Linked DNA regions of Homo sapiens: all the other regions are linked to region 5. Evidence: promoter capture Hi-C in 16 types of primary human blood cells and fetal thymus (Javierre and others, 2016). All regions are on one chromosome and are shown on one strand. The core of a region is centred on a gene start or on the middle of the fragment in contact, and the rest is flanking DNA. Distances in the headings are between cores, read along the strand shown.

Evidence for each region. The method cuts DNA at HindIII sites, captures the fragments that hold promoters and counts their contacts. A CHiCAGO score of 5 or more calls a contact.
Region 1: a fragment that was not itself captured here is called in contact with the fragment with the promoter of C5orf67 in region 5 in 2 of 17 cell types (naive B cells and total B cells); the score reaches 7.0 in naive B cells.
Region 2: a contact is called between a fragment that was not itself captured here and the fragment with the promoter of C5orf67 in region 5, in 3 of 17 cell types (total B cells, naive B cells and neutrophils). The highest score is 9.9, in total B cells.
Region 3: a contact is called between a fragment that was not itself captured here and the fragment with the promoter of C5orf67 in region 5, in 2 of 17 cell types (naive B cells and total B cells). The highest score is 6.6, in naive B cells.
Region 4: a fragment that was not itself captured here is called in contact with the fragment with the promoter of C5orf67 in region 5 in 1 of 17 cell types (naive B cells); the score reaches 7.3 in naive B cells.
Region 6: a contact is called between a fragment that was not itself captured here and the fragment with the promoter of C5orf67 in region 5, in 4 of 17 cell types (total B cells, non-activated CD4 T cells, neutrophils and 1 more). The highest score is 6.2, in total B cells.
Region 7: a contact is called between a fragment that was not itself captured here and the fragment with the promoter of C5orf67 in region 5, in 3 of 17 cell types (naive B cells, neutrophils and total B cells). The highest score is 10.0, in naive B cells.

The regions. Positions count from the first base shown.
Region 1 is chr5:56,418,567-56,421,996 of GRCh38, forward strand. No RefSeq gene overlaps it. Among named protein-coding and RNA genes, the nearest start is that of LINC01948, 61 kb to the right of the region's middle. The HindIII fragment of the contact is 1,299 bases long and covers 1,530-2,828 here.
Region 2 is chr5:56,401,557-56,405,277 of GRCh38, forward strand. No RefSeq gene overlaps it. Among named protein-coding and RNA genes, the nearest start is that of LINC01948, 78 kb to the right of the region's middle. The HindIII fragment of the contact is 917 bases long and covers 2,013-2,929 here.
Region 3 is chr5:56,360,530-56,364,249 of GRCh38, forward strand. No RefSeq gene overlaps it. Among named protein-coding and RNA genes, the nearest start is that of LINC01948, 120 kb to the right of the region's middle. The HindIII fragment of the contact is 2,721 bases long and covers 819-3,539 here.
Region 4 is chr5:56,383,695-56,387,365 of GRCh38, forward strand. No RefSeq gene overlaps it. Among named protein-coding and RNA genes, the nearest start is that of LINC01948, 96 kb to the right of the region's middle. The HindIII fragment of the contact is 3,095 bases long and covers 10-3,104 here.
Region 5 is chr5:56,604,425-56,608,147 of GRCh38, forward strand. It overlaps C5orf67 (chromosome 5 putative open reading frame 67), which reads right to left and starts at 1,832. Exons shown (of 6, transcript NR_161255.1): 1 at 1,598-1,832. The HindIII fragment of the contact is 384 bases long and covers 1,491-1,874 here.
Region 6 is chr5:56,855,491-56,859,400 of GRCh38, forward strand. MAP3K1 (mitogen-activated protein kinase kinase kinase 1) reads left to right here. Exons shown (of 20, transcript NM_005921.2): 2 at 1,110-1,260. It also overlaps the pseudogene LOC124901214. Among named protein-coding and RNA genes, the nearest start is that of MAP3K1, 42 kb to the left of the region's middle. The HindIII fragment of the contact is 944 bases long and covers 2,037-2,980 here.
Region 7 is chr5:56,765,710-56,769,169 of GRCh38, forward strand. LOC105378979 (growth/differentiation factor 3) reads right to left here. Exons shown (of 3, transcript NR_172721.1): 3 at 686-3,460. Among named protein-coding and RNA genes, the nearest start is that of MAP3K1, 48 kb to the right of the region's middle. The HindIII fragment of the contact is 2,833 bases long and covers 121-2,953 here.

The DNA of each region.
Region 1 (3,430 bases), core at 929-3,428, 190 kb before region 5:
TGGCATCTGAAGCAAGAAGTTCACCAAGATGACTTGTTTAATTTTCCCCTTTCATAGGGTACTTGGGAGTTTATTTCTTCTATATTATGTCTTCAAACTTCTGGTTAAAAACACTAAACTATCTGATGAGCAGAATATAAGAAATGATAGGAATAATGATCTGGCATTTGGTTTCTAGAAGAAAACGAGACAATAAGCTTAAATGGTGCCTGTATTAGAAACAAGGGCAATAAGAATTTCGAGAGTGTTAAGGTCTTAATTCTGACCTTGTGATAAGACTATTTCTTGCTATTTATTTCTCCCCATCAGAAATCTATAATTTTCTATTTTTCAATTGTCATATCTATGAAAACATCCTTAGCAGGTAACCTAAGACTTAGAGGTTGAAAATGTGAGATTAATATTGGCAGAAAATGTTAGAAGACAACTTTGGCTACCTGGAACCCAGACTTTTTTTTCTGTGAGATCTTGGAAAAGTCACTGATATGGTTTAGCTCTGTGTCCCCACCCAAATCTCATGTTGAATTGTGATTCTTGGCATTGGAGGTGGGGCCTGGTGAGAGGTGATTGGATCATGGGGGCGGTGTCCAATGGTTTAGCACCATTGCCCTAGTGCTGAGATACAGCTCTCATGAGATCTGGTTGTTTGAAAGTGTGTAGCACCTCCCCTGTCATTCTGTCTCCTGTTGGCCATGTGAAGATGTACTTGTTTCCTCTTTGCCTTCACCATGATTGTAAGTTTCCTGAGGCCTCTCAAGAAGCAGAAGCCTGTACAGCCTGTGGAGTCATGAGCCGATTAAACCTTTTTTTTTTTTAATAAATTGCCCAGTCTCAGGTAGTTCTTTATAGCAGTGTGAGAATAGACTTACACAGTCACCTAGCCTCGCTGAACCTCAGTTTTCTAACTTCATTAGAAATCCTTTTAGATTGGCCCGCTTATCTCTTTATACAGATGCTGTAGGAATAGAATTAGCAGGATAAAATACCTAGAAAAATTAAGAGACTTATTCAAATGTATGCTATTTTATTTAAGTACTAGTTTATTTTTCCTTTCTTGACCCCAACTCAGCTCTGAGTAGAAAAAGTGACCAGGAATGTCAAAAAATTCAGCTCCAGATCTAAGAGGAGTCTAAGTAAGTTCAAGCAGCAGGTCTAAAAGAAATAAACCACTCACCCCCTGCTTCCTATTCTCTTTTCTGTTTGATTTTCATAAGCATCTTTGTGGATGGGTTAACCTTAAGTGTGTGCTGTGGTAAAAATGTTGTGATAATATCATGTTCTGTGTTCTCTTGTCCTGCCAACATGAGAATCAGAAGGAGGAAGTGCAGATGAGCTGGAAGAGTGAGCTGCATCAGTAAATATGAGCTGAGCTATTCAGAATTTTGACAGGCCCCAATAATTTCTGAAACTGTGCACGCACATGCACACACACACACACCCCTACGATGACCTTCTACCTATGTGCCAGACACTTTTCTAAGAATTGATGTTACACAATGATGAAAAATACATATTCCCTGCTTTCAAGAAGCTTGCATTCTAATGAGTGAAGAATAAAATAGTGAATTCATAACATAAATTAAATTCAAATAATTATATGTGCTATGAAAAAAATCCAAAATAATTAAATAGAGAGTAAAAGGGAGGTGAGAATGGGGCTGGAGTTGACAAGTAGAGAGGTAAGAGTCAGACAAGAGAAGGTGACATTTGAACTGAAATCTGAGTATCCAGAGGCACCAGCCAGGGAAATATCTAAAAGAAGAGCTGAAAGATGAGTTGGAATGAATTCACTGAGGAAAGTATGCAGGAAAATGAGGTTGCAGAGGTAAACCACAGCCAAATCAAAAGCAACTTTTAGTCTATGATCTTGGAATTTATTCTAAGTAGCATAGGAAACTCTTAGGAGAGTCTGATCTTTGATTTGTGGATTAATGTCTTTCATTAACCTTGGATTAAATCTTAGCCATTATCTCTATAAATGTTTCTTCTGCCTTATTCCTTCCTGTTCTTTAACACCAGTTTCCTGTATATCAGACCATCTAACAGTGTCTCACATCTAAAACATTCTATTGTTTTTCTTCATTCATTTTCTCTTTATGGTTTAGTTTAAATAATTTCTATTGAACTGCCTTCAAATTTACTGATCTTTTCTTCAGGATCAGTAAAGGTTGTGTTCAGTATTGTAGTTAAACACATTGAATGAATTTTCCATTTCTAATATTGTAGTTTTCAGCTCTATAATTTCCCCTCAATCCTTTTAGAGAGCTTCCATTTTTATGCTAAAGTTCCCTGTCTGGCACAAACTAATTTCCTAAAATATTTTTGTTGAATGAATAAATTGGTTTTGCTGCTCTGTCAGGAAAAAGGATTTTTTAAAATACAGAAAAATGTTCACATCTGTACTGAAAAATTTAGTGTCATAAATTAGTGATCTTCCACTAAGACTCAATAACTCATGGTACAACCAGGTGATAGCCATTTCATTTGAATGTTTTGCAAATTTAACCTTATTTTGGAGACAGCTAATGTAATAAGGCACTCTCATATTACTAGTATTCTTATACTTGGTCAGTTCCTTCTGGAAGCTCATAGTAGGACTAGACCCACAGGCATATAAACATCAAGGCACTTTGCTCAATAGTGCAGAACTATAGCAACCATAATAAATGTCTCCTTTTGTGAATGATTTAAATAAAGCCAGAATGCCTTTGGGTTAGTTTTTATCCCTGGAAAAAGACAAATCATTCCACTGGCAACATATAGAATATGTTCCTTGGAATAAATGACATATGACTTAAATTTCTTCTCTCTAGAGGATAGTTTTGGCAAGCTTCTCTATGTGCAAATGTGAAAGATACAGTTTTCACCTGGAGTAGAAAGTCCCGGAAGTCTGTCCTGCAGAGCAATCACTAGAGTGCTAGGAATCCCAGAATTTAACAAGTAAAATTCAAAAGAAAAGTAAAAGTGAAAAGGAGAAGTCTCAAGTAATCCATTAAATGTTTCTGGAGCAGACAAAACAAAATAACAAGGCAAGGCTGTGGAGTTGCATAACAAGAAAAACATAAATGCATATTTTCCAGAAAGCACTGGCCTCTCACATAAGTTTAAAGAGACTGATGCCTCTGGCGAGGGGATTATACTAGAGTTGCAATCACCTTTATGTTTTATTAGTGCTTATTATTACCATGGTGAACACAATGCTATCTGCTTCCCTGAGTGTGTTTGAAGTATAGGAAAAATCCAAAGATTTTTATAAAGTGAGGGATGGTGATACAGTACAACTCCTACGTGCACATACATATGGACGTACACAGAGAGAGACTCAAAAGAGTTGCATTTTAATTTCTCAGCAGAAGGAAACTTAGATTCTTTCATATCCATCTGTAGTTTCTAGACATTATATGGAGAGACAGAAATCTGAATTTGGCCA
Region 2 (3,721 bases), core at 1,221-3,720, 200 kb before region 5:
ATCACCACTGCAGAATAGAAATGTTGTCTAAGTGATAAAAATAAAATTATCATCATAACAAAAATACTAAATTAAAAATTTTTTAATTTTCTTACAGTTCATGGAGCCCCCTCCCCTTCCAAAAATATGCCCAGAGATCTCTGTTTGAGAATTACTTCTCTTAGAAAGTTTTGGGAGCCTCTGACAGCCATGGTTGATGGGGGCGGCGGGAAGCAGGAAAAAAATTAAATGTTTTGGTGGTGGCGGTTCTAAATAAAAAACATTTTAAATTACTTCGTGAAATGGGAAGTAAGGCTAGGAAATAAATATATGTACATATAGAGGGAGAAATAATGTTTAAGTACTTTATTTTCAGTAGATATTAGGTGGCTTGATTGAGTACATCCAGCTATTTTGGAAAATGGCAGCTAGTGAAAATATTTTTCAGCAACAAGACTTGGGGTGTTTGTCTCCATTTCAGCACCCCCTTTCTTCTCAAGCAATTTGATTTGGGGTGACTTGTTTAGGAGATTTAGACAACGCTTTCATGTGAATATTTATATGGGCAGATTTTGTTTTCCCCTTGGGCTGTACGGCTGCCAGCCATTTATTGCCTGCTTGGTACAGGGGCAGGTTTTTTGTTTTGCTTTTTTCCCTTTCCCCTCTGTGGTTCCTACAATAGAAATAATCATTTTTTAAAATGGAAAGGAACCCACTCCCTTTTCATAATCTCAGCTACAGATCTGCTTTTGATTCTGCATGCTTCATTTTGTTCCCTGAAGGATAATTTGGAGATTTGAGTAATTAACCCAAGACTCATAGGAGGCAGTCTTTCGGAGGCTGGTAATTTTGCTGTGGTGGAGTCGGCTGCTGTCAAGCATTAACTTCTTAATAATGAAGCCTTTCAGACCCTCTGCTATTGGCACAATGATGCACTTGAAGCTAGTGGCTTGGCGGAGTGTAAGCGGGCCACTTCTATTCTTTCCTTGGACAAAATAGTCCTCTTGATCTCTGGGTTGGAGCTATTTTTAGTTTAGTTCAGTTCTTTTTTGCTTTTTAACTTGGTGGGCAAGTCTTTCACTTATATTTTGATCCACTGCTTAATCTGTTGCCTTTTTTCAAAAAGACCTGCAAAAAGGCACCCTTCCCAATATCCAGCAGCTAGTCCCCCCTTTCAGTATATTTAGAATCCTCTTTTTAGAAAAGCTGTGACTCAACTCCTGCACTAAATGGGACCTTGCTTCTCTGATCCCAGTACACTTCCTGCTATTAACATGGTAATGTCTGTGGTGCAGCACTGGGGACAATCACACCTGCAATTAAAAACCAAATTAGGATGTATCTTTTCTTGGCAAACAGGATCCACAGAAATTCGAAGACAGCTGCTGCCCCTCCCCTCCCATTCCCACTCATCTTTTAATTCCCTCTTTCGAGCTTTGAGCAGGGAAAAGAACTAGAAATTTCTGGTTGTTATTTGATGAGTCAGTATTTTAACTGATTCGGCAAATACTGAGTGCTTACCATGGAACAGACTTTTTATCAACTTGAGATAAGCAGAGCCATTTTATCAACTTGTCATTGTGAGCTCTGTGACTAGGACCTATGTGCTTTGAAAAGGATTATGAAAATACAAGACCTAATGTATTTGTATTATAATATATATAGCAATTATACACATACATATATAACAATCCCATAAACACAAAATTAATCAATGGTTAATGTCGACCAGCAGCATTCTATCAACTTAATTAATTATAGACCTTAAAACAAAATCCCAGTACATTTGCAAGCAGTTTATAGGTAGATTTTCCAAAGATTTCCAAATATTCTCCTTATAAACTAAATTAGTTTTTTCATAATCAAATAATTTCAAAAAACATGTTTTATTTAAAATTTCTAAAAATTCTTTTCGTGCCAGAAATTACTGTTCATGTGAGATGTATATTGTCAAAATGCTTCATTTGAGAAGAGCCTCTGAAGGCTTTAAAGTAGCGCAGTGAGAGCAGATGGGGGGAGTTCATGGAGGTAGAAGCTTACGATTCTGTGTGGACAAGGCTACATATAATGCTAGGACCCTACTTAAGAAGATACAAAGGATGTGTCTTAGCGACCTGCTGCATTCCTGTTAATACTCAGCTATTAATACAAAGCACACATTGTTCCCAGGTAGGTCTTACTATTATCTGTGCCATTGATGCCCCTTGGAATATTTGAAGACAATTCTCATGTCAACTCAAAAGTTCTGTCTTGGCCAGGTGCGGTGGCTCAAGCCTGTAATCCCAGCACTTTGGGAGGCCAAGGCTGGCTGATCACCTGAGGTCAGGAGTTGGAGACCAGACTGGCCAACATGGTGAAACCCCATCTCTACTAAAAATACAGAAATTAGCTGGGTGTGGTGGCAGGCACCTGTAATCCCAGCTACTCGGGAGGCTGAGGCAGGAGAATTGCTTGAACCCGGGAGGTGGGGGTTGCAGTGAGCCGAGATTGCGCCATTGCACTCCGGCCTGGGCAACAAGAGTGAGACTCCGTTTCCAAAAAAAAAAAAAAAAAAATTCCTTTCATTTCTGTTTCTTTCTATTCCCTGTAGAATATTCTGGTCACTTTCTTTTGCTCATTCCTCAGTTTTGGGTGCCCCAAAAAGGAAAATGCCATATTCCAGATGTGGTTTAATGAATACAAAGTAAGTGGGAGTCTTGCCATTACACTAGAGTTTTATCCTTATATTAACTCAACTTCATCATGTTTTGATGCATATTGGGCTTGTCCTCAACCAAAACGCAGAAGCCCATGGGTCCTTTTCACATCAGTGATGCCAAGTGGATCAACTTCAACCAGTCCTTGTGAAGATGGCTTTCTGAATGTCTTTGCATTTAGGCTTGTTAAATACAGTTTTGTAAGTACCTCCTTCAACACAAACCCTATCATCAAAACCCTGATTTTGTCATCAAGCTTAGTTATTATTCTTCCCAGCTTTGTGCCTTCTTAAAGTTGACAAGCTGGCCTTCTGTGTTGGAGAGGACAGAGGTGAGCAAGCATGGAACTGGTGACTGCACCTTGGGGATTACTGCAAAATTATGTCTGCCTTTGTGTTTAACTTGTCCCATTACCTACAAAAATCCAACAAAGGAATTGTTCTCTATTCTGTCAATAAAGACACAACAGATTATTTCTTTAACGTTTCACTAGAATAATGGTATTCTGATTTTCAACAAATATTCAGGCAGGAATAGTGCTTCTGTAGTTTCTATTTGCAGCTTAATATTGTATGTCACATATAATGTTAACATGATATGACCCAAGATTCACATATACTAACTCGTTATGGCATTTCTTGTAGGAACAAGGCCTCTGAGTCTAGGATGATGAAGTTAAATTTATGTGAGGCCAAAAAATAAATAAAAATAATGGCTCTGCCCCAGTTGTTGCATAGCTATAAGGTTAGATGGGACCTGGATAGGTCATTTTATCATCCCTCTACCCCCTATTAAGTCATGCTATAAATCTGTCTTCATTTTCCTTAGGCCTTCCTTTGTCTACCTTTTTCAAAATTTTCCATAAACCATGTTTTCTGAGTTGTCATACACATTTTAATTTTTGAAGGTTTAGGGACAGTGTCCAATTCAATGTTCCTTGTTTGGCTTTGCCTCTTGGCCCAGATCTAAAGTTCTTGGATCTCTGATAAGTACTTAATGGCCTTGGGGACGCGAAAAGAAGAGTGGGCCTTGCTCTGGATTAAAGG
Region 3 (3,720 bases), core at 929-3,428, 240 kb before region 5:
TGTCCAACCCTCAGCCCTTTCTAGGCAACCGCTAATCTACTTTCTGTTTCTATATATTTGCCTATTGTGGACTTTTTATATAGATGGAATCATACAGCTGTGGTCTTTTGGGTCTGTCTTTTGCTTAGGATAATGTTTTCAAATTTCATCCATATAGTAGCATGCATCAGTCCTTTATCATATTACCCAATAATAGTGTGGATATAACACATTTTATCTATCCTTTCATCAGTTGATAGACATTTGAGTTGTTTCCACTTTTTTCTTTAATTTTTAGTTGACACGTAATAATTGTACATATTTATGGGATGCAGAGTAGTATTTCCATATGTGTATACCATGTATAATAATTCAGGGGAATTAGCACATCCATCACCTCAAACTTGGATCATTTCTTTGTGTTGTGAACATTAAAAATCCTCTCTTCTAGCTTTTTGAAAATGTACAATAAATTCTGGTTAACCACATCCCCCCTGTGATGCTGCAGAACGCCTGAACTCATTCCTCTTATCCAACGGTAATTCCGTAATTGTTAATCAGCATCTCCCCATCCTCCCTGCCCCGCCACCCTTCCCCGCCTCTAATACCCACGATTGTACTCTACTTTTTCTTAGCTCTCTCATGCATGAGAACATGTGGTATTTATCATTCTGTGCTTCTCTTATTTTATTTAACATCATGTCCTCTGTGTTGCTGCAAATGACAGAATTACATTTTTTTTGTGGCTGAACAGTATTCCATTGTGTATATATATCACATTTTCTATTTAACTTTTATTTTAGGTTTGATGGTACATGTGAAGGTTTGTAATGTAAATAAGCTTGTGTCATGGGGGTTTGTTGTACAGATTATTTTATCACCCAGCTACAAAGGCTAGTACCCAATAGTTATTTTTTCTGCCCCTCTCCTTCCTCCCATCCTCCACCCTCAAGTAGGTCCCAGTGTCTGTTGTTTCCTTCTTTGTGTCCATGAGTTCTCATTATTCAGCAACTACTTACAAGTGAGAACATGCGGTATTTGGTTTTCTGTTCCTGCATTAGTTGATAAGGATAATGGCTTCCAGCTCCATCCAGGTTCCCACAAAAGACATTATCTCATTTTTTTATGATTGCATAATATTCCATGGTGTATATGTACCACAGTCTTTAAATCCAATCTGTCATTGATGAGCATTTAGGTTGATTCCATGTCTTCACTATTGTGAATAGAGCTGCAATGAACATACAAGTGCATGCGTCTTTATGGTTGAATGACTTATATTCCTCTGGGTATATACCCAGTAATGGGATTGCTGGGTTGAAAGGTAGTTCTGTTTTCAGCTCTTTGAGGAATTGCTACATTGCTTTCCACGATGACTGAACTAATTTACACTCCCCCCAACAGTGTTCTTTTGGGTTCTTTTTTCTCCACAACCTGGCCAGCATCTGTTATTTTTGGACTATTTATTTACTTATTCATTTTTGAGACAGAGTTTTATTCTTGTTTCTCAGGATGGAGTGCATTGGCGCAGTCTTGGCTCACTGCAACCTCTGCCTCCTGGGCTCAAGCAATTCTCCTGCCTCAGCCTACCAAGTAGCTGGGATTACAGGTGCCCACCACCATGCCTGGCTATTTTTTTTTTGTATTTTTAGTAGAGATGGGGTTTCACCATGTTGGCCAGGCTGGTCTTGAACTCCTGACCTCAGGTGATCCGCCTGAGGTGCTCGGCCTCCCAAAGTGCTGGGATTACAGGCGGGAGCCACTGTGCCCGGCCATTTTTTGACTCTTTAATAGCCATTCTGACTGGTGTGAGATGATATCTCATTGTGGTTTTGATTTGCATTTCTCTAATGATCAGTGATATTGAGCTTTTTTTAAATATGATATTTGGTCACATGTATGTCTTTATTTTGTTAACTTTCATGTTTATTTATTTTTTTTTGAGGCAGAGTTTCATTCTGTCACCCACACTGGGGTGCAGTGGTGGGATCTTGGCTCTCTGCAACCTCTGCCTCCTGGGTTCAAGGGATTTTTGTGCCTCAGGCTCCTGGGGAGCCGAGACTACAGGCGTGTACCATCACACCTGGATAATTTTTGTATTTTTAGTAAAGATGGGGTTTCATCATGTTGGCCAGGCTGGTCTTGAACTCCTGACCTCAAGTGATCTCCCTGCCTCAGCCTCCCAAACTGCTGGGATTACAGGTGTGAGTCACGGCACCCAGCCCGTCTTCTTTAGAAAAGTGTCTGTTCATGTCCTTTGCCCACTTTTTAATGTTTTTTTTGTTTGTTTTTCTCTTGCAAATTTGTTTAAGTTCCTTATAGATGTTGGATATTAGACCTTTGTCTGATACATAGTTTGCAAAAATTTTCTCTGCTCTGTAGGTTTTCTGTTTACTCTGTTGATAGTTTATTTTGCTATGCAGAAGCTCTTAAGTTAATTAGATGCCATTTGTCAATTTTTGCTTTTGTTGTGATTGATTTTGGCATCTTCATCATGAAATCTTTGCCTGTTCCCATGTCCAAGATGGTATTGCCTAGATTGTCTTCTAGGGTTTTTATAGTTTTGGGTTTTACATTCAAGTCTTTAATCCATCTTCAGTTGACTTTTTTATATGGTATAAGGAAGGGGTCCAGTTTCATTATTCTGCATGTGGCTAGCCAGTTATCCCAGCACCATTTGTTGAATAAGGAGTCCTTCCCCACACTGCTTATTATCTGTGCTATTTCTAGAATTATTTGCAATTAATGGATTCAGAAACTGAGGCTCAGTGTGTGTGTGTGATTTGCCCAAGTTTCCCTCTCTACCATTTTCACTCTATACCTGCGGTTCTCAAGGAAAGACGATTTTGCCCCCCAGGGGAAGTTTGGGACTATCTGGAGACATTCTTGGTTGTCTCAACTAAAAGGTGCTGTTGGCACCTATGTTGGGTAGAGGCCATGGTACTGCTAAACATCCTAGAATGTACAAGACAGCACCCCCCTCCTCCCTGCACACACACAAAGAATCATCCATCCCCAAGTGTCAACAGCACCAAGGTTAAGAAATCCTGCTCTATATATTCTCACTTTAAAGTTTCTCTTTGATTTCAACTACTATCTTTATGCTGGCAACCTTTAAATCTATATTTGCTATTTCCAAAGCTCCATGGTCTTGTTGCTAACTGCCTAACAGAGACTTCTACCTGATTTTCATTTGGGAATGTTAAACACAATAAATTAAAAAGTAATATTCTGAACCTCCTATATTCTGATCTTGATCACTGCCCCTACCATCTAGGTTTTCTCAAGTGAGAAACATGATTGCAATGTGATATGGTTTTGTTATGTCCCCACCCAGATCTCACTCTGAATTGTAATAATACCCGTGTGTCAAGGGCCAGGCCAGCTGGAGATAACTGAATCATGGGGGCAGTTTCCCCCATACTGTTATCATGGTAGTGAATAAGTCTCATGAGATCTCATGGTTTTATAAATTGGAGCTCCCCTGCACAAACTCTGTCATTTCTGCTGCCTTGTAAAATGTCCCTTTGCTCTTCCTTCATCCTCTGTCATGATTGTGAAGCTTCCCTAGCCATGTGAGTCCATTAAACCTCTTTCTTTATAAATTACCCAGTCTCTGGTATGCCTTTATTAGCAGCATGAGAATGGACTAATACACCACGCTTGATCTTTTCCTTGCTGTTCTCTTCCTCACTTTCCCCAATCCAATCATGTGACATATCTTTCAAATACATCTGAGAG
Region 4 (3,671 bases), core at 307-2,806, 220 kb before region 5:
AATCATCTAAGCTTCCACCTTAGGAAACTAGAAAAAGCAGAGCAAACTAATCCAAAATAAGCAGGAGAAAATAAATCATAAAATTGAAGATGACATTTAAAATAGGAAATCAGTAGAGAAGATAAAAAAAATTCAGGCTCTGGTCGCCTCAGACACTATGAAACCCAAAGGCTGGAATGGCTAAGTCACCCAAACAGCAAAGCTAGCACCCCCACCCCCGCGGCCCCGCCCCGCTCTCTCTGGGCGTACCATGTTGGGGGAATTTAGATCTCTGTCCGTGGAGAGCTTGAGCCGGGCAACTGGAGGTCCCAGTTGGAAGGTCCTACCCAGTGAGGAGGAATGGGATCGGGCACCTACTTAAATCAGCAGCCTGGCCACGTTTTGGTAGAGCAGCTGTGCTGTGCTGGGGGATCCCTTCCACCCTGGATTGGCTCAGACTCTCCAAAGCCTGAAAGCTGGAATGACTAACGCATCCGAACAGCAAAGATGTCACCCCCTTGCCGAGCTTCTTTTTATGGGGCTGCAATGCAGCTATTGGTAGCTGGCTGGAATTCCAAGCCAGTGGGTCTTATCTTGTGAGATGCTGTGGAAGTGGGATCTTCGGGCTGTTGCTGCTCAGCTCCCGGGATTCAGGCTCTTTCCTAGAAATATGTGTGGGAGTCTAACCTCCCACTTTGCCAGAGCTGCAGCTGCTTTTGCTGGAAAGCGGAAGTATCTAAGGCTCCAGGGTCTGCGCGCAAGCCTGAGCTCTGCCGAAACTCCACCTAGCTCTGTCCCTCTGACTCAAGACTGAAGGCCCTGTTGGGTTCACAAGGAGATCTCCTGACCCAAGAGTTGCGAAGATCTGTAGGAGAAACGTGGTTTTCCGGGGTCGCACATTTGCTCACCGCTTCCCTAGGTGGGGGAGGCTCCCCTGGCTTTGTGTCATTCCTGGGTGGGCCACTGTCCTGTCTTGCTTGTAAATACTGTTTTAACAGAGCATTCATACTGGGAAAACATGGAGTTAATAAGATTAAAACCAGGCTATGATAGGGATAAGGCTTTCAATGTCTAGACATTTCTCATGATGCTTCTACAAAAAACCACCACAAAAGAAAAAAAACCCAGCTATTAAAATGCTAAAAATTTCAAGATTAATAAAAATTTTAAGAGATGAAATAAACAAAAAAGAAAAATCAAAAACAAAATAAAAGATACTAAGAAAATAATGAAAATAAAGAAAAAGGTTTGCATCAAGCAACCTCAGATAGGATTCTTTTTTTTTCTTTTATTATACTCTAAGTTTTAGGGTACATGTGCACAACGTGCAGGTTAGTTACATATGTATACACGTGATGAGTATTCTTTAGTTAAGTGGAGAGAGGAAAGAATTTTGTCTGAAACCACGAAATGAGTCTAAGTGAGAAAAAAGACTGGACAGCCAAATCTCACTGGCTCCATACTACCTGAACTGTCTTCTGGAGCATTCCTTTTATTTATCTGCTGGAAACTTATGGGAAACATTATCTTACAGAACATTTTTTAAATATCCAAGATTTTAGAGACTGCTTGCTAAGATAAACCCTGATTTAGAATCCATGTGAGAAAATCCTTGAGGAACATAAGGAGCGATTGCCTGAGGGATTCTCTTGCATCTTTATCCAAAGGACTCAAAAAATCAAATTCAAAATCCATCTCTATTATCTTCACCTCTAATTAATATTGGAGTATCTAGATTGCTATTTACTTCTCTCACAGACCCCTGGCAAATAATACATCACCCTAATTTCATAGAAACTACCCCACAGTTGAATTCCTCACCCATCTGATGTCTCAGCATTAGGATGTGAAGACTGAAAAAATGGAAGAATACGGATCAAAAAAAAAAAAAAATCATTCTACTTACCCTAAGGCCAGTGTTTTAGTATTGCAGGGAGGTTCTATCATCCTTTAGTGCTCTTCTCTTGAGTGTTGTTGTTGCTGTTATTCTTTTCTTTCTCTTTCTTTTCTCCTTCTCTTCCTCCTCCTCTTCTTCCTCCTGCTTCCCTTTCCTCTTTCTCCTTCTCCTTCCTCCTGCCCCCTCCTCTTCCTCCTCTCCCATTCCCCCTCTCTCCTCCTCCTCTTTCTTATTCTTCTTCTAACCTTTCTATTTAGTTTACCCCAAAATCATTCCAGTCCTAAGGACAGTTAAAGATATCTTGTTCCCATGGAGAAAGGAAGAATAAAATATGTAATATCAGGGATATAACCTAATTTTACAAACAGAGTTAAAAGAATTACAGCTTGTGACATAATTTTTAAAACAACATATGTTCCCTCTGTAGTGATTACCCTTCACCAGACGATCTTTGGTTATTCAGGGAATTATAATAACATTAAATCAATTTTCAAATATCATTGAGGCAGTTTGCTATTTGCCAGTTGAATTTCCTCATCTACGTGGTTTCTGGGAGCTCCAGCAGTACAATCAGTTGGTGAGTGGTACTTTCACAAGGTTTCTTGGTCTTATTGGAGTTATCAGCCTGCAACCTTCAGGAATCAAGGCCTCTTTGCTGGGCGTTAACCAGAAGTCTGGGTGGCAAATTGTGTGGCTCTGGGGTTTGTTGATGCTGGTTTGCATGAACAAGTTGTGTTAGCTCTAAGCCCAGTTGATGGTTTTGGTTATGCAATTACTTGAGCCCTGGTTTCTTCATCAATCAAGCAAGCCTCAAATTTCCTCCTCTTTCTCAGTTTTGTGATTTTTGACATTAGCAGAATTTAAAATACAGGATGGTTGCTAAGCAGTTTCATAAATGGAAACCACATTTGTCAAATGAGCTCCACACCAGGAAATTCAGCGAGAGGATTCCTGGGTATCCTCAGTCCTAGCCTGCCTAGCATCTCACGTGAATTGGAGTCTGTAATGTCCTCCCAGAGGGAACTGGATCTAGCCAGTAGGCACAAACATTCTTTTGGTCTTTCCAAAAATTTTCTGCAGAAAATGCCTATGGGACAACTCACTGTGAAGTTGAAATTATATGCAAGTGTGTATACAATTAAATTTCAAAATAAATGCCTTAGAATTGTGTGTGTTTGTTTTTTGCTAATTTGATGGTAAACATGAAAGCCCAAAGTGTCCTGGGAAAAGCTTTGTATTTTTCTTTAAGCCACAAATAGTCTAATTAGACTTGAAAGAATGCACTTCCAAAGCAAAATAAGACAAAATAGAACGTTCAAAGAGCCACATACCATAGTTTCAGAGATAACTAGAAATTGGGTCTATAAAGATAGCAATGCATTGCTATTGAGTTTGTCTCGCCCACTGTCTTCCACACTCCAGGCGGGAGGGCTACAGCAGCGTCTTATCGTCCTTGAATTTGTTGAATGAATGGCAGTGTCCAAAAGTGCGGAAAACCCCAGGCACAGAATGATACTAAGGGGATCTAAAGAGTTTCTTGGATGAAAATACTGGTGCTACTTGGGAAGATTTGAGAATATGATGGCTCTGAAAATGTACAATTGCTCTGCAATCTTACAGAATTTTTAGAGTCAACTTCTATAAAGAGGGGACAAAACTATTTATAATAAGCACAGTTGAAAAAATACTGTGAAGCAGGAAAGATGGCCTTAGATGTTGTCACCTCCTATTTCTGGGAATTCCTCACCATTCACGGTCCTCAAGATCACTCTACCCCCTTCCATGTCAAAGCCTG
Region 5 (3,723 bases), core at 582-3,081:
CAGCACTAAGCAAAACTCCCAAAGTGCAGAAAGCTGGGGGCTGGGGCAGATCAAGTCAAACATGTCGCCTACACAGGCCCCTCAGTCTCCTTCCTCAAGCCAAGCTTCCACTCTTCCCCCCGCCCCGGGCCACTCTCTGCAGGACAGGGTGTTCAGAAATTGCTTGAAAAGGGAGAATTATCTTGAAACCAAAGACATTCATTTAGACTTGAACAAAGGTGGTTGTTTGAGGGAATACTAGGGAAAAAACAACTTAGAAGAAGGGAAAGGAGGCATATAGATGGAAGTTAAGTCAGACTCCACATAGTTTCAATTAATATGATTTTTGGAAAGGCTCTTACATCCTCATTTCTGTGGAGGCCGACTTGGCCAAAGTGCTGAACCAAAGTTTTGCCATATAGAACACAGCCACACAAACAGGCCCCTCCTAGTCAATCACTGAATCCAGCCTCTCCAGACTCAACAATCTGACTTAGGATCTCAGAATTCCAGGAAATACTAGGGATGGCTTGGCTGCCTCCTTGGTTATAGGTGAGGAAACAGGCGAATGGTGAAATGACTTAACCAAAGTTCCCAGAGCTGGCACATTTATAGCTGAGATCTCCCAATACTGTTGTCTTACTCCTGCACGCAAAAATTAGTGGATGTTTTGTTCTTTTTTTGTCTTTCAAAGGACTTGGTTTCATTGTTAAAAGAAACCTCACTGCAAGTTACCAAGCTGTCAAACCCTGAGGCGGGATGAGCCACTATTTTTCAAATCCGTGCACCAGTAGTGCTTCTGTGACATCACCCAACACAGAATATCTTAAAATCGATTTCAGGAATGGATCTCGTAACCAAAAAACAGCTTGTTCAGAAAGGGGCACCTATGCACGTAGCAGATGCCTTCTATCTGGTCTCCATCTTCTATCAGGTCTCCCTTTCTCTCTCTTTATTACTGCCCCCCACCTCTGGGAAACTGCCACACCCAGCCACTAAGACCAAGACTTTGCGCACTAAGACTGTGTCGACAGATAAGCAGAAAAGTACAGCACTAGTTTCATCTAGTGTTCTGCCCTGTGTTTCAGTTGAGAGAAATTTCACACATATACACAGACACAGACACACACACACATACTCTCTCTCTCTCTCTTCCTAAGAAATGAATATAGAGCAGCTAAAACCAGATAAGTTCTAGATCCCTGAGGCTTGAGACCCAAGCCTGAGACTGTTCTTAATTGGCCTCATTGACAGCAGATGCCCAGCTCCTCTGCCCCACTCTCTAGGATCCTGCACAGATGTGGCCAAATTCTTCCCCACCAAACCAGCTTTAGACTCTCCTGGGCCTGGCGATCCATGCCTTCTTCTTCACCCCTCTCCTGAAGATTCCTGTGACTATGGGTCTGGAAGCCCTTTCTGCCAAGACACCACTTTCCTCTTCTGGTCTCATTTGGTTTGTCTGACCCTTGGCTGGTTCTAATCCTTGGTGGATTCCTTCACATACTGCTCTAAGCTTGCCCTTTGACTGCATTACCTCGAGCCTTTCTACAAGGCACCAGCTCTATTTCCTGGCCAGAAGTAGAAATTCCCTCCCCCGCTGCGCAGAAGTCCCACTCACAGAATTCGGCTTCATTGCTTCTCTGCCTCTCCAGCTCCATTCCTCGAAGAGCAGAGATGACAAGATGTAGGTTCTGTGTATGCATCCATGTTCTCACTGATGGCTCAGCCAGCATCTCTAAAGTTTTTTTTAATGATTAAGGGCCTTTGGGTTCCCCTGTGGCACTTCCTTGGAGGTAAGGGCTCAGGTGAAGTTGTTCATTTGGCTGTTGATCCCAGGGGAGCACAGGGAATATGAAACAGGGAAGAGAGGAAAGCTAATAAAGAATGTGTTAAGAAGCTTTGGGCAATCAGGGCTTCCTCTAGCAGGAAACCCTTAGGAGACTGCAGAACATTCCTTGGAATGAGGGCAAGGACTTTGGATTATTTATCCAGCCAGGACTTTCCCTCTTTGGCCAAGGGTCATTCCTTGGGCAATAATTCCCTGGCACTTGCAGACTAACCTGTGTGCTTCCAAGCTCATTTCTTTTTTCTTTTTTCCTTTTGTCTTTTTTTTTTTTTGAGATGGAGTCTTGCACTGTTGCCCACGTTGGAGTGCAATGGTGCGATCTCGGCTCACTGCAACCTCTGCCTCCTGGGTTCAAGTGATTCTTCTGCCTCAGCCTCCTGAGTAGCTGGGATAACAGGTGCCCGCCACCACACCCAGCTAATTTGTTGTGTTTTTAGTAGAGATGGGGTTTCACTATATTGGCCAGGCTGGTCTTGAACTCCTGACCTTGTGATCCGCCTGCCTCGGCCTCCCAAAGTGCTGGGATTACAGGTGTGAGCCACCATACCCAGCCGCTTCCAAGCTCATTTCTATGGCTGAAGAATGCCCTCAGGCAGAGAGAAGCAGGAGGTTGTCTGTCTACACAGCATGTGACTACAGCCAAACTCTGGGGTGGCCAAGGGGACATGGGTTGGACACCAACAGCGTCTGCTACAAAAGTGGTTGTTGCCACCCCTCAGAATCCCCCTCTCTGTGTGATCTTCCAGATTCAATGTAATACGTACTGAATGCTGCCAAATATAATGTACCAGACTAGACTCAGGTAATCACAAAGATGTGTAAGACAGAGTTCTTCTCCACACAGAACTTTCAATTTGATGTAAGAGACAAACAGAAATAAAAGTCTTTATAGAAAAGTAAGTCTTTATAGAATAAAGAAGAATATGAGAAGGGCTGTATTAGAGCCATGAATCACTGGCTGTGAGAGCTGCGGGAAGATGAGATTAATTTTGACTAGAGGGAGAAGGCTATCAGGGCAGTTTTCCAAAGCTAAAATATTTTAAACATATGCTAAATCGACAGACATCCAATTCCCACCAAGAGCAAAAGAATAAACATTCTTTCGCAGGGCCCTAAAGCCAGAAAGCAGTGAAAGAATTAGAACCATTTTATCTCAATTCACAAAAGGAAATAAGTGACATCTTTCAGTATCACCCCATCTTCTAGATGCAACGTTTAAAACCAAGTCACAAGAGCAAGATGTTCTTCCTGCTCCACGTTCAACTATGCATTTGAAATCTGTTCTCATTTGTCGAAATGAGCAATTAATTAACAGTCTTTGTGAAGTTCTCAGACTCAACAAGTGTGCCCCTCTCCTGCTGCCTCTGCCACAGGCAGCCACTTTGCATGTCCCTGCTTTTGAAAGACAACTTAGGAATGAAGCTAAACGAGACATCAGCAGTTTTCCAAATCCAGGTGAAGAAAGTGAATGACTTCAGCATGAAAGACAGGGCTGGGGCGACAGGGGAGAGCAGGAGACGGATGAGTCAGCCCATGTTCGTGGAAAGCTGGGGTTTGTTGGAAGAATCTCAAGCTTTCATTTTGTGGTGTTTGGAAGCTTAATTCCCAGCTTCTAATTAAACATATAAACTGTAATCACAAAGGTATTTCACAAGTAGTTCCTTGGATGTGGCAGGGGTTCTAAGAACCAATTTGAGATGCAGGGAGGAGCGGGAAAGGCGTGGAGAGGAAGCAGGCCTGGGAGTGAGAGTGTACTGGGCTTCAGGAAGCTACCTGCTGAGGAGGTGCTGGGGACCCCACACCTGAGCTCCACACTGGAGGGATGCAGACAGAGAGGATGGGGATGGAGCCGTGCAGTGGGGCCTTTTTGTTCTTCTTGCCCAGGTCCTTCTCTCCTG
Region 6 (3,910 bases), core at 1,259-3,758, 250 kb after region 5:
TCTACTTTCCTCACAGTCTTGATGCTTCAGTGAAACGGGTTAACCGTTTCCTTTCTAGTGAATATTTTTTTTTAAGTAGTTTCTTCTTCCTTTGGCTGATTCTCTGAAGATCGTACTTCATAGTTGTGATTAGCTGGAAAATTCCTAGAGGAGTTTGAATTTGTCTTTGTAGTAAACTTGAGGTTCTTGTTTTTGGTATTTCCTTGAGTATTTCCTTTTCCTATCAGTGTAGAAAAACTGTTCTCTAGCTTTAAAGACTTTTCAAAATAGTTACTGAAATTAGCTTAGTATTTTTAAAGTTGTTACTAATCCCAAGGTGCAGTTGCTTTAACTGCATCCTTATAAATCAGGTTTTCAAATCTATGCATATCGTGTATGCATGTATGCTCATGTGGATATGGGTATATTTTAAAATTAGTGATTTTCGTGAGCTTGATGCTTTGCCTGTTAGGCTTTGTAGAGTTAATTCTCAAACGTTCTTAGTTTAGAGATTGTTTTATTCTGGTAAATCCACACCATTTTATGGAGTAAAGATCAAATGTTTGTACTGGATAATTTTTATTCTTTATAGAGTACCCCAAGTGCTTTGTTATGAAGTCACTGTTCTATGAAAATAAAAATTTAATCATGTAGGCTATGAAAAATTGTTTTGGGGTCATAGATGATGTAGTTAAGTTTCACTTCACTTATTAAATATTTATTGAGCTTATTTCAGATAAATCAGCATATCCACCAGATTCTATCTGTATTGACTTAATTTATTGGAAATCCTGGGATAAAAGTGTAGTAATACACCCTTCTAAATATTTGTTATTTGGGTGGTAGAATTAAAAACAATGCAGTCTTAGTGAATATATTTGTTAATATAGTGCTTAATGTCTTGGGATTCATTTTGTTAACTACAGTGGAACATAGGTCTGCATGATATATGTCAGTAGTATATAATTCAGAATCTTTTCAAGCTTTAAGTCATTTGGGGTTTTTAGCAGTTATCTTTTTTATTACATGTCCGTTGGAAGTATAAAATAGAACCATCCATTCTGTTTGTTCTTGGAAATTATTTTTCATATATACATTTCTCATTTTATTTGTTTCTGCCTGCATTTTAGTCGTGAGATGGAGAATAAAGAAACTCTCAAAGGGTTGCACAAGATGGATGATCGTCCAGAGGAACGAATGATCAGGGAGAAACTGAAGGCAACCTGTATGCCAGCCTGGAAGCACGAATGGTTGGAAAGGAGAAATAGGCGAGGGCCTGTGGTAAGTGGCTATGGGTTACCAGTTATAAGGAAGAAAGCATAGGAGGAAATGGAAAAGTAAGCATAAATAGATCCTCTTGTAAGCTTTTCTTCTTCATTTTAAATGTAGTAGTTTTCTTTACTTGATATTGTGGTCATTTGGAAGAAACCATAATTAAAACTGTGCTCATTAAACAACTTAAACTATTCTGGGAACTTAACTGTTGTGTTTGGTGGAGGGGTAAATGCTTAAACCAAGACTGCCCTCTCATGTCAGTATCTAAAATCCTTTCATTGGAGTTTTATACTGTACTTGTAAATTTTAAAAAGAATTTTTCCAGTTTATTTTAGATGTTTTATCTCTAAGACAGGATCCAAGGATCTTAATTTCAGAAATCTTCTAGGAAAGAAAACATTTAATTGCAGTAATTCATAAGTGTAATGATTGGGTTTTCACATGCATGCATAAGATGTGCGTTTCTCCAACTTTGTTACAGTGTCAGCATGTTATCCTCATTTGACATGAAAAAATGTTTAATAGACCTATGGGGATTAAGATAAATTAAAAATGTGTGGGGTTTGATGAAAGAAAATCTAGAGTCCTAGATTTTAAAAAGCAGGGATACTCTGTCCTTTGCTATAGGTATAAGAATATATATTCTTATAAGAATACCATCATGAAATGTGTGTCTTCATTCTTACAAAGGAAGAAGTATTACAGTATCCTAGCACTAATCTCTCTCAGCAAGTTTTTATTTTGTTCTTTTAAAACAGATATGGCAACTTAAAATTCATCTAAGCTTTGACAAGGGTCTAAATACACCCCTGCCAAGTGATTGTCTGCCCTACATTCATCCCATATGCCTATTTAAGTTTACATTTAAATTAATTAGATGTAAATAAAAGTAAAAATTTAGTTCCTCAGTCTCACCAACTACATTTCAAATGCTCAGTAACCACATGTGGCCAATGGCTACCTTTTAGGCAGTGCAGTTTTAGCACATTTTCACTGCCTCAGAAAGCTCTCTTAGATGTGTAGTACTGACTCGTGTCTGACTTAAATAACTCAATAATCCCTGTGGCTTTCGATATCCTCATCACTGAGCTGCAGTCTGTCAGGAATATTTTACCCACTGGTTCTCATTCTAACCGATGGAATTATACAGAATAAATCTAATTGTTCCTTTCCATACCAGCACTTGGTAAGTTATTATGGGCCCGTGAGTCCTTGTCTTTACAGCTAAGTTTCTACATTTCTTCCATTTATTACTCACGTGAGGTGGTATGGTGGGAACCCCTCACCATTTTAGCTATTCGTGCCAGAAGGTGAATATGAAGAAATTAAGGATTTATCTTAGAGAAGAGAAAGTGCTATTGAAACATCTTGTAGAATGTTGGCAGTTAAAAGGGCATATTACTACTCAATCAATATAAAGAACTTTTGAACAAGCAGAGCCATCTGAAGTTTGAATGTGCTGCTTTCTGAGCTCCTTTAGATGGAGGTGTTCAAACAGCCTAAATCTTTTGAGAATACCGTAGGGCATAAATCACAACTTTTTAAAAATGAGCCAGCTATTTGTTCTTTATTATACATGAACTAAGAATATCCAGTTCTCTAAAACAAAATTTTGGTTTTTATACTGTTCACTTTCTAGCAAGTACCAAAGTACCTTGTCTGTATATAAGACATGAGTGAAGAGGGAGGAGATGTGTGGAATAAGATGCATAACACATAGTCCTTAAGCTTAATTATGCCACCCTACATTTTATGATTTACGGATTTCGTATTATCCTTAGGAAGTTTACTGTTTACTTGGGAGGTCTGATTTTGTTTGTTTTTATACTTTAAGTAAGTTGTGTCAAATCATTCTTGAAACATAAAGGGTAAATATCTCCAAATGGGAAAATTAGACTTATACATAATAAATAGAGTAATACATGAAATATCACAAAGCAACTTGTGACTAGGTGCCAAATGTGTGGGATGGGCAGAAGAGCAATAGGGACTTAGGAAAGAGAAGGAATGTCTTGCTGGTAGACTTCAGGGAAGTTTCATAAAAGGAAGAATTTTAACTCAGCGTAGAAAGATGGGTAAATTTTCCTCATGTGAAGGTGTACTGCCTGGGGTGCTGCAGGCTGGAGATGAGTATTAAAATAGGAGGAGAGTGAGTGAAAGCACAGGAGGAGGAAGGGTCAGGCAAGTTTGGTGAACACAGCAACTGGCTATAGAACAGGAGCAGTGGGAGAAAGTCCAGAAAGGTCTGCTGAGCTTCAGTTGTACAAAGCTGTGGAGTTTGGCCTTTGGTCATGGCTAGATTAGGTCTGAAAGCCTTAATTAAAAAAAAAAAAAAAAAAAGGCAGGTCTTGTAAACTGCATTTCTGCTTGAGAAATTGATCTTTAAACTTCTAGTCTCTTTTGGTTTTCTGAGATACACATCTAACCTATTATTGTAATATAACATTGTAAAGAAACACACACACAAAGCAGGGAAAATGATTGCATAGTGATCAAACTATTTGAAATTATGCCCAGTGTTGTTTCAAGGTCCTACATTTTGTAAAAACAAATAAAAACGTACCTAGATCTTTGATCTAGTAGTTGAATAAGTTGACTGTAGAAGTTATGAGTGCTTATTTTTCACATTTGTTTAATCACCTTTGATTGTTGCTTT
Region 7 (3,460 bases), core at 287-2,786, 160 kb after region 5:
AACCACTGTTCCTCGGTTTCCTCTTTCATAAGACAGCACCTTCCTGATAGTAAGAGCATAGAAGAATGCCTTGCACCAGACACTCAATAGTGTAACCTATTACAAATTAATTCACTTTAAAGCTTCCCATTGCTTTTTCCTTCCAGGATAACTTTTATTGAAATATAAATACATGCAGACATGCACGTAAGTATACGGTTTGATGAATTTTCACAAACTGAACACACCCTTGAGGCCTCTGCCCAGATTAAGGGTCAGAACATCCCCCACACTTAAGAGCTCCTTTTATACTTGCACCCCACACCCTACCGTCAGCTAACAGTAATGTTAATCTAACAACATTTGCTTTGCCATTTGTAAAACATTTATTGTGGTAAAATATATCTAAAACTTAGAATCTTTTTTTTTTTTTAGGCGGAGTTGCTCTCTTGCCAGGCTGGAGTACCATGGCATGATCTTGGCTCACTGCGACCTCCGCCTCCTGGGTTCAAGTGATTCTCCTGCCTCAGTCTCCCAAGTAGCTGGGACTACAGGCGTGCACCACCACGCCCAGCTAATTTTTGTATTTTTAGTAGAGACGGGGTTTCACCATGTTGGCCAGGATGGTCTCCATCTCAACCTAGTGATCCACCCGCCTTGGCCTCTCTGAGTGCTGGGATTACAGGCAGGAGCCACCACGCCCAGCCCATCTTAACCATTTTTAAGTGTACAGTTCAGTAGCGTACTAAGTGCAATCCCATTGTTGTACAACCACCACCAGCATCCGTCTCCAAAACTCTTTTCATCTCACATAACTGAGACTCAATACCCACTCAGCAATATCTCCCTATTCCTCTCTCCCTCTAGCTCCTGGCAACCACCATTTTACTTTGTCTTTATGAATCTTACCACTCTGGATTCTTTAATATAAATGGAATTGAAGTGTTCGTCCTACTTTTGCCAATTTTTGTTCTCTACCTAAGTAGAATCATACAGCTATGTTTTACCCTGTATCTAGCTTCTTTCCCTCAACATGTCTGTGGGATTTATCAGTTCATTTAGAGTTCTACTTTGTTTCTCCTCGTTAAATAGTACTCTCCTATGTGAGTATGCCACAATGTATTCTACTGGTGATGGGCATTTGGGTAGTTTTCAATTTGGGGTTTTTACATGTAGTGCTGCTATATCTTTTGGTAAAATATGTGGCTAGAAATGAAATTGATAGAACATAGGGTATGCATGTATTCAGCTTTAGTAGATATTCCTGTTGCTTTTTATTAATACATTCAAGTCACCAAAGAGAAGTGATCTTTCATCTTACATGAAGGAAAGCAATTTACATATTTGAATTCACATGATGCTGTGGACTCTGCCCAGAAGAGTAAAACTGCCCACCCACTCAACTCCTCCCACCGCAAACCCCACATGCCAGCTCTATTGAGCTTTCTCTGCTTAGCTGAACAGCCGTCTCCTACTCTTTCCTCCCTAGGCCATTGTGGGTGCTGCTTCACTCAGCCTGCACCCTCTTTGTACCTGGTTTGATGGCTGTTTGTCTCTCAGACCTCAGCCCCTTTGAGAACTAGTACCAAAGCACAAAGTATGCTTCCTCAAAATGCATGTCATCACGAGTCCATTCCTGTTGGAATGTAAGTCTGAAGATGAGGCTCTGGCATTCTCCTCTTGCCCAGGTCTTGCCACTTACTACCTCTGTTTCTTTATCTTTTAGGAGTTGTCTGCACATGCAGATTAAACTTATTTTGAGCCTCCATTCTGGGTTCCCATTGACATAAAACATGATGCTTAGAATATACACAAATCCAAACCACTTAGATCGGTATCAGCAACCAGGTTCAATCCACTTTCCAATAGTTGTACATAACACCATTTTACTGCTCTAGATGATGTCAAGTCTAAGGACTCACTAGCATTTAATAACACCTAATTCAAACAGAACAAAAAACTGCCCAGTAGCACCTTCCAAAGACTAAGTAGAATGACAGAAAGCACTGAACTCTGAGTTGGTCTTCCATGTTGGACAAAAAACAATGCTCTGAATCTACATGGTTTCATTACAGAATTGGAAGAGTAACGTGGACTGATGCCATAAAAGTAATTCCAGTTAACAGTTCCATTTACACTAAAAACAGTAAACTAGATCACCAAGAAATAATCCAAGTAGAAATTGCCATGGCTTAAATGAAATAAAAGTGAGGTAACTCATTCAGATCTTTTTCTCCATTAAATGTAAAGTTATATCATGTTCATGGGTGGGAAGATATAGACATTCAGACATCTTCCATGAGAAAAACAACTTAGTGTATGGTACACATTCTTTCAGAATCCTAAGTATACATTAAAACTATAGGAATTAAGTTAATATGGACATGAAAATGAACAAAGATTAGTGGATTAGAATAGAATGTTAGAAAAAACTTATTAGGCTTAAGGAAATTTAACATGTGATTTAAAAAATAGTGCCCAAATGAAGGTGGATGAAAGTTCAAATAGTCAATAAAAGGTTAGAACAGCGGGCTATTAAAAAAAAAAAAAGACCTGTATCAGATAAGAATGTATTTGACTGCAAGTAACCAAAAAACCAAACGAACAGTGGCCTAATTAGAGATACAATTTCTCATAAATTAGAAGTCTCTGCTAGTATTGGCCCACCTGCTCAATGATATTCTAAGGTGAGTTGACAGTCTACAGCCCACAGGCCAATCATTACACTTTTGTACAACTCAAAAATGAAGAATGGTCTTTACCTATTTTAAATGGTTGGAAAAAAGAATATTTTGTGACAAGTTACATTAAGTTTAAATATTAGGGCCCGTGAATAAAGTTTTACTGGAATACAAAGATGCTCATTTACATTTCCTCAATGGCCATTTCTATGCTTCAACACCAGAGTTGAGTAGACAGAGGTTGTATGGCCTACAAAGCCCAAGATATTTACTATCTGTCCCTTTACAGAAAAAGCTTGCCAATCCCTGCCCTAAGGAACCCGTACTCTTTCCAGCTTTGCCATCTTTGTTACATTGCCCCCAGTAATGTAGTACATTATTACTGTAAACTAGGCCCTCAACTCCAAAGTAGAAGCCTTCTTGGAAACCCTGCAGACTCCCACTTACATTTGACTGGCCAGAGATTGGCACTGCCAGGCCTAGACACAAGTGGCCTGGGCGCCTCCAGCTCTCCCTACCCAGAAGTATTAATGTATAAATAAGACCATGAACACAAGAACTACAAGAGGCAGAGTGTGTATGATCTTTTTATGGGGATGACCAAATATGAAACCTAGAACCAATAAAGTCAGAGATGGACTTATCCATATAATACCCCCATGTAGAAAAGAAACTTAAATATATTTGTCACATTTTGTTATATTAAGAGTTTCTATAAGACAAAAAATGCTTGATAAGCTCAAAGAATTCAACTGGCTAATTTGATATGTTCAAATTTTCATTTTTAAAGATGCAACTTA